2 separate regions of the Homo sapiens genome follow, and region 2 is linked to region 1. The links are contacts of gene promoters, found by promoter capture Hi-C in human tissues and cell types (Jung and others, 2019). All regions are on one chromosome and are shown on one strand. Each heading gives the region's core, a stretch centred on a gene start or on the middle of the fragment in contact. The rest is flanking DNA. Distances are from core to core; before and after follow the strand shown.

Evidence for each region. The method cuts DNA at HindIII sites, captures the fragments that hold promoters and counts their contacts. A contact is called where the count stands out against the background at its distance.
Region 2: a contact is called between a fragment that was not itself captured here and the fragment with the promoter of IGFL3 in region 1, in 2 of the 25 tissues and cell types used here (hippocampus and mesenchymal stem cells).

Annotation. Positions count from the first base shown.
Region 1 is chr19:46,121,075-46,126,881 of GRCh38, forward strand. It overlaps IGFL3 (IGF like family member 3), which reads right to left and starts at 3,614. Exons shown (of 4, transcript NM_207393.2): 1 at 3,551-3,614; 2 at 3,194-3,247; 3 at 2,812-3,082. The coding sequence starts at 3,575. It also overlaps a transcript of IGFL2 not described here. The HindIII fragment of the contact is 6,445 bases long and covers 407-5,807 here.
Region 2 is chr19:45,905,716-45,911,522 of GRCh38, forward strand. No RefSeq gene overlaps it. Among named protein-coding and RNA genes, the nearest start is that of MYPOP, 6.0 kb to the left of the region's middle. The HindIII fragment of the contact is 7,651 bases long and covers 1-5,807 here.

The sequences.
Region 1 (5,807 bases), core at 2,364-4,863:
GCGCTTAGAAAGTTCCAGGCACCACTATAGTGGTGGCTCACTCCTATAGTCCCAGCACTTTGGGAGGTCAAGGCAGGCAAATTGCTTGAGCTCAGGGGTTTGAATCCAATCTGGGTAACATAATGAAAACCTGTCTCTACCAAAAAAAAACCAAAAAACCAAAGTTAGCCAGATGTGGTGGCATGTGCATGTAGTCCCAGCTACTCAGGAGACCGAGGTAGGACGATCACTTGAGCCCAGGAGGTTGAGGCTGCAGCTGCAGTGAACTGAGATCATGCCACTGCACTCCAGCCTGGGTGACAAAGTGAGATCCTGTCTTGAAAAAAAAAAAAAAAGAAGAAGAAAAGAAAATTTCTAAGATTTTCCTCCCATCCTACTTACTCCAACACTCATAGCCTGAGCATCTTCCCAAGATGCATCTCAACAGCCCACTGAGAGGAGTAGTATTTTCTCTCAGCTGTGGAGAAAGAAAAATTGAGGAATTATGAGACAAAGACAAGAAGAGAGGAAAGATGTCAGAATTAGCCAGAGATAAAACAACGGTGTCGCACGTGACGACTATCTGAGGTTAGTGTCACGTGAGTAGTAAAAAGAATTCACCAAGACAGTTGTAAAGAAAGGCAGATTTTTTAGAAAATGTAGGTAAAGAAAGGCAGATTTTTTAGAAAACGTAGAAAAATTGTTGCAAGAAAGCAAAGGCAAAACAGCAAGTGCGGAGCTGACTGCAAAGAGACAAAGGCTTGCTGGGGATTTTATAGGTTGGTGCTTGTGCTGGAGAGAGCTACTTAGAGTACTGATAATGGTAAGGTTGCAGTGAGCTGATTTGCATATTTCTTTTTTAATGAAATTTAACTTGGCTTTTACTGCATTTTTAAAATGTAAAAATGTAAAAACAAACACAACATAGTATTTCAATGCTGTACCTTTATGCAAATGACTTCATCTATCTTTTTAAAACATGCTGTGATATAGCTAATGTTAAAACTGACACAGCTTCACTTTCTTCTTTTTCTCTGTACTGAAAGCTGCAGAAATACACCTTTAATTCCAAGACAATTTGGTTGAAGCCCTCAAAATAAAAAGTGTACATCCACTTCCATTGCCCTGACTTTCCCCACATTGTTGATTGTGATTCTCTGTGCCATGTTGGTAGATCAGGCAGGCTATATATAATTTGCACAAAACATCTTTAGCCAGGGTAAGGTTTTAGAAACTATCTTAAAAAGAAACTTGTCAAAATATTTTTGATATTTAGGACAAATACTAAATATTATAATTTTCTCCCAGCACATCTGTTTACACAGCCTAGTTAGCTAGCTGACCCTGTTAAAGATCAGCTTATGGAACAAATAGGTGAAGTCATTTCCTGAGCCAAAAGATACAGATAATAAATGTTAATAATAGCAGCAGACTAAAAACATTCCTTTTTGTTGTTTGTTTTCCATAGTCAACAGTTTTAGCACAAGGACTTTAGAAAATGACAGATTTTTTTGGTAAAGTTTACTGCCTGAAAAGAGTTTAATAAAGAACATCCAAGGCCTGATTGCTGTTATTCTGAATATAACTTTTAATTACTTTCTGTAAGTTACATTCGGTTACTGTCAGACAACTTACTGTTGCATGGAAAAATGCCCCAAAAAACTGCAATGGTTTACATACATTTTACATTACACGTATTACCTCTTAAAACCCCCAACAGAATAAAGTCTTAGCAAACACAAATTTTAATTTCTGAACACCCTTCCAGTAAGATTGTAAAGGTGGGAGGAAGGGGAGGAAGGACTTGTTTTTTGTATTCCTAGTCTACTTGATTAAAATGTAATCTTCCAAGGGTTTGTTTAGCTCACTATCCAGACTGCTAGGGTTATGATGAACATTATTACTTCTTTCCAGGGTAAAAAAAATGACATTTGAAAATAATGTAAATGCTATGACATGATTTTCCCAAGCATGACCTCAACTTGAAACATTAGATTACTTAAGAATTCTAAAGATTGGTATACCACCACTGCACCAGAATTTTTAATTATTCCAACAGCTACAGGAATTTTTTAATAGTTTTTTTAATTTTATGAACTTAAAGCTGAAGAAAATAACCGATTTAGAAACCATAATAAAAGGACAGATATTTAGCCAGAGATATCAGTTCCTCCTGAAAAAGGATACTGACCTCCTCTCACTGCAGTTTTTCTCCAGGTATCTTACTGATTTCAGATAGAATTTAAAATTCATCTTAAAAATAGAAACAAAAGGACTACTTAAACTGACATTAACTAATAAAAATATGCTCAAATTTACTGACAGAATCATGGACACTTCATACAATACTTAGACTCTACCAGTTTTAAGTAAAGTAAGGAAAAAATTATAATTACAAAGCCAGTCTTTCCCCTTGGGGAAACAAAAAAGCCACTTTTGACCAATTGTTCCCTGCATATACATATACTGTATATTATTATAAGCTTCTTCAGAGAAGCAAAACATCTTTGTCTTCCTGACACTGGATTATTTAGCATGTTTTTTTACATCAGGAAGGCAACTGCACTGCTTGCATTTTTCTACCAGCTGAGTGTCTGGTGATAGCTGGGTGCAAGAAGATTGTGAGTTATTTATGCAGGAGGACTGTTTGTCCTCGACCATGAAGAAAGGCAGACTTATAGCTTATCTGCTTCTTCTTTTTGCTTTCCCCTGCTGCCACCAGCCTGACTCTTTTGCCGTTAGAACTCCACAAACAGGAGTTCCTCTTCAAGCCCTCTGTATCCCTCATCCCTCCCTCATTCCTTTAGTTAAGAGCAAGGTAGGGACCTTTACCTGGTACAGCTCCGGGAGATGGGAGATAAGTGACACTGAGACTTCATACCCAGAACCCTCAACTTCACAAGAAACTTCTGCTGGGGGCCAAAAGACTCGGGACAGCAGAGCTCAAAGCAGGGCCAGAAGGTGCAGGTGGAGCCACAGCGGCGGGTCTCCTTTAAGGATAAGATGGCATCATCATAACAGCACTGCTCTGAAGGGTTGTAGATCTTGTTCCCACACCTGGGTGTCGGCTGGCACAGCCACAGTCCTGAGCCAACAGGAGCGTCTGGGGGCAGACATTGATGGTGTACATCCAAGGAAGAACAGATACTCAATTCCCAGTCTCTTTTCCCAACACCACCTCTTCCCTCCTCATTTTTCCCTGTCCTGTCCTTACCTGTAGTTCCTTTTGAACACTGGAGGAGGAAGACTGTTATCCAGCAGACAAGAGCTAAGGGAGAAAGGAAAAAGGTTGAACATGGAGCTGAGAATGTGACAAGTATGGAAAAAACAAACAAACAAACAAACAGAGGTTAGGGTGGTTTAAAGGTGGAGATTATCACTTGGGGCTAAGTCTGTATGGGATCCCGTTCAGGCAGGCCCTGAGCAGCACGCTCAGTCACCCTTTGAGGTGACTAGTAGGGCACAGGAGGCTGGAATAATGTTAGAGATAAAGAGGAATAAATCGGGTTGAGGTTTGGGAGCTGCACTGGGAATGAGATGAGATGATGTTTGGATTTGGGGTCCTACTTGCCCAAGATGCAGCATCGTGGCCTCATGCTTCCAAAGATGCTCTAGGAGAATTGAAGAAGAGTGGTAAAAGGCTGGAACTTATGGAGACAGCCTAAATGGGGTTGTCTGTTAACCTGGTAAGTTTACTGATTGGATGGCTGCTGATCATGCCACCTGCAGTCTCCCAAGCACATTCCTTGAAGATAACCAAAGTCTCCCAAGCACATTCATTAGTTTCTTTAAGGAGGAGACTGGGTGGCGTAAGGGACCACAGAGCCGAATGTTGCAGACTGACTCATTGCATTCTCCATATACTATTGCAGACCTCAGGGTGAATGAGTGTAGGTTGGTCCTACTCCAAGTTAGGCTTCTAAGAGTTTTCAAGCTCCGACATTGAGGAGACAGTGCCCAACTAAGCTCCAATCAGAGAGAATGCTTCAGCCACTTCCCCATCTGGTTTCACATCCTCCCCTTCCTAATACTTGCTTCTTCTATATTCCCCAAGCACGATGTCTCTGGAAATGTCAAGGGGACCGTTTATGAAGCCACTTTATTTTTTGCTCTGGAGTCATTAGAGTTGCCACCTGCTCTAGCAGTTGAGCCACGGCTCTGGAAACTCCAATAAAGGGGGTAGGGGTGGAGAATAGCAATGGCCCAAATCTCCTGGTGTGCTTGGTGTGAGGATTCAGAGACCTCCAGCATCTTAGTTACATGGTCAGGGAAAGTACTAAACACCTGCTTTTCATAATCATATTATATTAGTGGCCAATGATAAGTGATGTAGTACTTAGGAGTGTGTAGTACTTAGGTGTGCAGACAGAGGGAAGGGCAGGGCAAACTGAGGCCTGCCAGGCAAGTGCCAGCTAGGGAAGGGCTTGGACAAATTCAAATAATCCCGAAGCTGTGGAAAGGACCTCAGTCTTCATGGATGTGTGATGATTCAATCAGAAAATGTCTAAGGATTGGCCAGACTTTCCATCCTCCACTTGCTGGCACAGCATAGGGAAGAGTTGCTGACTTAAGTTCATCCAGCCTGTACCATAGCCTTTGAAATGGTTCTCCTTTTCTGAGCTTCATTCTTAGCTTCCTGTACATGTGCGGAGGTGTGGGGTGTGGTTTGGATGCACAAGGCTGCTCTCCCCTACCCCGGAACCTAAGAAGGCCAACAATGTGAAGATTCCTAGTGAGCCCAGGCTGTCAGCTTGTTTACTACCAAATGTTAAAAAGAAACGTTTGAGTTTGATTAGGTAAAATACAAAGGACAAATAATAATATCTTTAATATACAATTATCATTCTTATTCCAAATGAAACTTCAGCTTTACTATTGGGCATTGGGAAGTTAATGTGTACTTAATTTTTCATCTTACAGAAGTGGCAAGGGGCAGCTTGAAGGGATAATTTTTAATGCATTTTATAATGATAATCATTTAGAGAAATCCTTATGTTGTATCTCATTAACACTAAGATGTTATTGAAAGATACACTGTTGTTTTGCAACTCTAAGATGCAATCTCATCACTTAGAATGTTTATTAACAGAGCTTCTTGCAACATGTTGAGACGTAGACTTTTGGAAGGCGAATAGAAAAATAAAAATATATGGGAAATAAATCTGTTAAAGATTTCTTAAAATGTCTCCACATTTGGAGACTGCCTCCTGTGAATCATCTTTCAACCCCAGATTGGTTCCTGTGCTTTCTTACACAACATCATTCTCAGTTCTACCAACAGCATTGGTCATGCAAAGTTTGGTTTTATTCTAAGCTGCTGACACCCATACTGCAAGTTATCATTGAACTGGTGACACTAGCCCCTTCTTTCTTTGAATTTTCTTTCATCTATTCCTAGAGATTTTGACAACTCCTTCTGCCTTTCATTATGTTGTTTTCCTTGTGCTAGGCAATCCTTCTGTGCCTGTCTCAGAAACAAAATGTGATACTCTTCATCTCTTTATCTTCTTGTGCCCCATAAAGCACTTGGTTGTTGATCTGCAAGAAAATATGTACTTGGGTTCATTCCTAAAACAATGAGCATGTGCTTCATTAACAGTAAATTTACGTCATCGTCTTCTATTAATGTGTCATTCTGCACACACAACACACAAGCCAAATCATGGTGTTTTCTGATATTTAAAATGACAGTTACACTCAACACATGAAACATAAGCAATCCACACAACTTAATTGAAGTGTCAAGAATATTAACCTGAAGACTTAGTTCGTCCCTGTACAACTGGCAGCAGCTATGTCACTCTGCTTGTCTGATAGCTATTGCAAGA
Region 2 (5,807 bases), core at 1,009-3,508, 220 kb before region 1:
TGGCAGCCACAGGAAACAAATGCACTGGGGACCCCGGGAAGGCATTCGGGGAGCTGCATTCAGGGAGCTGCTGCCTCCATGGCAGTCCAGGCAGAGAGTTGAGTCTAAACCTGGCTCTGGGTTCACGAGGCGGTGGGAGGTGGAGAGCCACAGCAGTGGGGTATGGAGCTCCACAGATGTGGGTAGCTGGAAGCTGGATGCAGGAAGTCAGAGGGCAAGACTCCTGGGGTGAGGGTGGGTCAGGGAAGGCTTTCTAGGGCCACATTTTCTTTCTTGTCTTGCCTCTTTTCTTTTCTTGATGGAGTTTTGCTCTTGTCGCCCAGGCTGGAGAGCAATGGTGCGATCTCGGCTCACAGCAACCTCTGCCTCCCTGGTTCAAGCGATTCTCCTGTCTCAGCCTCCTGAGTACCTGGGACTACAGGGGCACGCCACCACACTTGGCTAATTTTTGTTTTTTTTTTAGTAGAGATGGGATTTCACCCGTGTTGGCCAGGCTGGTCTCAAACACCTGACCTCAGATGATCCACCTGCCTTGTCCTCCCAAAGTGCTAGGATTATAGGCATGAGCCACTGTGCCTGGCGAAGGGCCACATTTTCAAAACTGTGAGTTGTGAGTCCTTTTTTTTTTTTTTTTTTGAGACAGAGACTTGCTCTATGACCCAGACTGGAGTGCAGTGGTACAATCATGCAATCATGACTCAAACTTCCAGGCTCACCCTCCCACCTCAGCCTCTAGAGTAGCTGGAACTACAGGCACACACCATCATGCCCGGCTAAGTTTTAAAATTTTTTGTAGAGACAAGATCCCACTGTGTTGCCTAGGCTGGTCCCAAATTCCTGGGCTTGAGCAATCCTCTGTGAGGCCTCAGCCTCCAAGAGTGTTGGGATTACAGGCGTGAGCCACTGAGTCCAGCCAAAACTGTGAATCTTGACCCATTAGTGAGTCCAGGAAAATACTTAGGAAGTTGCAAGGAGAGATATTTAGGAGGAAGAATGGACAGGACTTGGAACCTGATGGGCTGTGAGGGGTGAGGGAAAAAGCCTAGATCTCTGGCCCTGGAGACAGGGTACATTACATGGTAGGGCCGGCCAAGATGGGGACTTGAGGGGTAGCAGATGTGGGGGTAAGATGCTGAAGTGGTTTGGGATGTGGTGGGTATGAAAGGCCTGGGGAGGTTTGGGGAATGAGGAAGAGCATCCAGGAACCCATCAGGTATGTGGAAGAGGGCTGGAGGCAGAGGCGGAGTGGAAGCTAAATTTTTGTTTTGTTTTGTGTTGTTTTAATGCTAAAAGAAATGGATGCAACAAGCATATCAAGTGCTGCCCTAGGGCTGGGCCTGGTTGCTCATGCCTGTAATCCCAGCACTTTGGGAGGCTGAGGTAGGAGGATTGCTTGAGGCCAGGAGTTCAGGCTGCAGCGAGCTATTATCTTGCCACTGCACTCCAGCCTGGACGACAGAGCGAGACTCTGTCTTTTCTTTTCTTCTTTTTTTTTTTTTAATTTAAAAGATAGAGATGAGGTCCTGCTACATCACCCAGGCTGGTTTTGAACTCCTGGGCTCAAGTGATCCTACTGCCTCAGCCTCCCAAAATGCTGGGATTACAGGTGCGAGCCACTGCACTGGCTGATACCCTGTCTTAAAAAAAAAGAAGGGGCCAGGTATGGTGGCTCATGCCTGTAATCCCAGCACTTTGGAAGGCTGAGGCGGGTGGATGATGAGGTCAGGAGTTCGAGACCAGCCTGGCCAACATGGTGAACCCCCGTCTCTACGAAAAATACACAATTAGCCGGGTGTGGTGGTGCACGCCTATAATCCCAGCTACTTGGGAGGTGGAGGCAGGAGAATCGCTTGAACCAGAGCGGAGGTTGCAGTGAGCTGAGATGGTGCCACTGCACTCTAGCCCGGCAACAAGAGCGAAACTCTGTCTCAAAAAAAAAGAAAAAAAAAAGTGCTGGCCGTAGGCACCTGGGATACAGCAGTGAATAAAATACTGAACTCCACTCTCAGAGCTTCCTTTCTAGCTGGGGATGGTGGATGGACAGGAAGTAGCTCACTTCAATCAGGGATAACACGGAGGAACAGAGCCAGTAGGGGGTATGTATGAAGTGATCTGTTGCAAGGAATTGGCTTACAGGATTGTAGGGCCGGCTAAGCAACTTCAAAATCCATACACAGGGCACCATCGGAAAGTGCAGGCTGGAGCTTTGGGCGTGAACTGAAGCCACTGTCTACAGGCGGAATTTCCTCAGGGAAGCTTCGGCTCTGCTCTGAAAACCTTTTGACTGATTGCAGCAGGCCCACTTAGATTATTATTATTATTTATAGAGACGGAGTCTTGCTCTGTCGCCCAGGTTGGAGTTCAGTGGCACGATTTCAGCTCACTGCCAACCTCCGCTGCCCCAGTTCAAGCAATTCTCCTGCCTCAGCCTCCCGAGTAGCTGGGACTACAGGCGCCCACCACCATGCCCAGCTAATTTTTTTGTATTTTTAGTAGAGACGGGGTTTCACCATGTTGGTCAGGCTGGTCTCGAACTCCTGACCTCAGATGATCCGCCTGCCTCGGCCTCCCAAAGTGTTGGGATTACAGGCGTGAGCCACTGCACTGGCCTATTATTATTATTATTACTCGAGACAGAGTCTCACTCTGTCACCCAGGCTGGAGTGCAGTGGTGCGATCTTGGCTCACTGCAACCTCCACCTCCCGGGTTCAGGTGACTCTCCTGCCTCAGCCTTCCGAGTAGCTGGGACTATAGGTGCATGCTACCATGCCTGGCTGATTTTTGTATTTTTAGTAGAGACAGGGTTTCACTATGTTGGCCAGTCTGGTCTTGAACTCCTGACTTCAGGGGATCCACCTGCCTTAGCCTCCGAAAGTGCTGGGATTACAGGTATGAGCCACCGCCCCCTCAGATTATCTAGGATAAATTTCCTTCCTTAAGGTAAACTAATTATAGTCTTTAATCACATCTATGAGATATCTTCACAGCAGCAGCTGGATTCATATTTGACTGAATGACTGGGGACAGCGGTCTAGACAAGCTGACATGTGAAACTGACCATTGCAACCAGAGACATAATAAACAACTCAGCCATGTGGCATGTTAGATGGTGGTAAGTGCTAAGGAGGTAAGAAAAGTAGAGATGGGTTGGAGGGATCAGGAATATGTGGGTGGGAAGGCCTCGGGGAGGTGGCGGCCTTTGAGCAAAGGCTTGCAAGAAGTGGCAGAGTAGGCCATGTGAGTATCTGGTCCAAGAGCTGTCCAAGGAGCCGGAAGGGTGAGTGCAAAGGCCTCGAGGCCAGAATGTTCCAGAAGTGTTCGGGGAACAGCTTAGAGGCCAAAGTGGCTGGAGAAGACTGAGCAAACGGGAGAGGGTGGGAAAAGAGCCAGACTTGGGTGAGAGGCAGATTGTGTGGGGCCTTGTGGGCTGAGATGAGGATTTTGGCTTTTAGTCAGAGTGAGACAGTGACCACAGGAGGGCTCTGAGCAGAGGAGGGAGATGAGCTGGCTTGTGTTTTAATGGGATCACTTTTGTTGGGTTTTGAAAATATACTCTTGGCTGGGCACAGTGGCTCACACCTGTAATCCCAACACTTTGGGAGGCCGAGGCAGGTGGATCACTTGAGGTCAGGAGTTTGAGACCAGCCTGGTCAACATGGCAAAACCCCATCTCTACTAAAAATACAAAAATTAGCCAGGCGTGATAGCGGTCACCCGGAATCCCAGTTACTCGGGAGCCTGAGGCAGGAGACTTGCTTGAACCTGGGAGATGGAGGTTGCAGTGGGCCGAGATCATGCTACTGCATTCCAGCCTGGGAGACTGAGTGAGACTCCATCTCAAAAAAAAAAAAAGAGAGAAAGAAAATAAAATATACTTTTTTTTTTTTTGAGACAGTCTCCCTCTGTTGCTCAGGATGGAGTGCAGTGGCGCCTTCTTGGCTCACTGCAACCTGCGCCTCCCAGGCTCAAAGATTCTTGTGCCTCAGCCTCCCAGGTAGCTGGGATTACAGGTGTGCACCATCATGCCTGGCTAATTTTTGATTTTTAGCAGAGACGGGGTTTCGCCATGTTGACCAGGCTGGTCTTGAACTCCTGGCCTCAACTGATCCACCTGCCTCGGCCTCCCAAAGTGCTGGGATTATAGGAATGAGACACTGTGCCCAGCCTGAAAATATACCCTTAGGGGTTGAGAGTAGAAGCAGGAAGATCATTGAGGAGGTGACTGCAGTACTCTGGGTGAGAGGTGGTGGGGCATTGGAAGGTAGTGTGCTGGAGAAGAGATGGTCAGATTTGGGATGGATGTTGAAGCTAGAGCCAAGAGGATTTCCTAATGAATGTGAGATTTCTGTTTTGGACTGGATAAGGAGGAGGGAAGGAAAGAAGGGAAGGAAGGAAGGAATGTGGGGAGGGAGAAAGGAGAAAGAAAGGAGGGCGGAAGAAGAAGGCAAAAACGACAGATGGAGAGACACGTTAAGAGAGAATCTGGATCGGGCACAGTGGCTCATGTGTGTAATCCCAGCACTTTGTGAGGCCTAGGAGGGAAGATTGTTTGAGGCCAGGAGTTCGAGGCTGCTGTGAGCTATGACCACTCCACTGCATTCCAGCCTGGGTGACAGAGCAAGACTTTTTGCGGGAGGGCAGAGAGAAGGAGAAACTGAATGATAAACCTAAAAGTGATCTCTCAACATTCTTAGTACAAATTAAAAATAAAGACTTTTGTTAATAGTGCGATCTTGGCTGGGTGCAGTGGCTCACTCCTGTAATCCCAGCATTTTGGGAGGCCTAGGCAGGTAGATCATTTGAGGTCAGGAGTTCGAGACCAGCCTGGGCAACATGATGAAACCCCATCTCTACTAAAAATACAAAAATTAGCTGGGCGTGGTGGCGCATGCCTGTAGTCCCAGTTACTTGGTAAGCTGGGCAGGCAGGAGAATTGCTTGAACTCGGGAGGTGGATGTTGCAGTGAGCCGAGATCATGCCACTGCACTCCAGCCTGGGTGACAGACTGAGACTCTGTCCCAAAAAAAAAAAAAAAAAAAAAAGTGCAATCTTTTCCCTTCCTTTGTATAAAATTCTCTAGAATGGGCCAGATACTGGTTAGCATTGGAAATAGGCTCTAATCTATGGTCACCACTCACCAGAACCCCTGGAACCCCACGTGTGCACAAATCCAGTTTCAGAGACCAACACAGTGGTAGGCACTCTTGGCCACTGTGGGAGTGTGAGGTGCAGAGACAAAGCCTTGGCCTTATATACTTCAGAGCACACTGGGGACTCTGTGAGGCTCTAGGTCTATCCTTAGTGGATCTAATTTTCCTGCCCTGGTTCTTTGTGGGTGTAGAACTATTCCCCTACTCTCTCTCCTAAGCCCAAAGTGGTGCTGGAGGGAAGAGGCCGTTCTGAAGCATTTGCTTCTCTGCATGGAGTCTCCCTGCTGTCTTCTCTGATTTCCTCAGGGGTGGGCGAGATGGTGTCTGATGCACACGGGCGCCACGCACAAGTCTCCAGTGGCCCCTGCATGCCCACTCTGCCTCTTTGTATCTTCTCTGAGCCCAGGAGGCTGCCCTGTGTGCTCTCCATCTGCCTGCCTGCCTGGTCTCAGGTTCATGGGAGGTAACTGCAGGAATGGGGCAGATGCAGGAGAATGACCAGCTGTCCTGCACCTGGCCTCGACCTGTCCACAGCAGCAAAGCTCTCTGTACCTCTTCCCATAACTCTCTGCATGCAGCCTTCTCACAGGCTCCAGGCCGGACTTTGACACGCACCTACTTCAGTCCAGACTCCCTGGATGCCTCCCCAGAGCCCC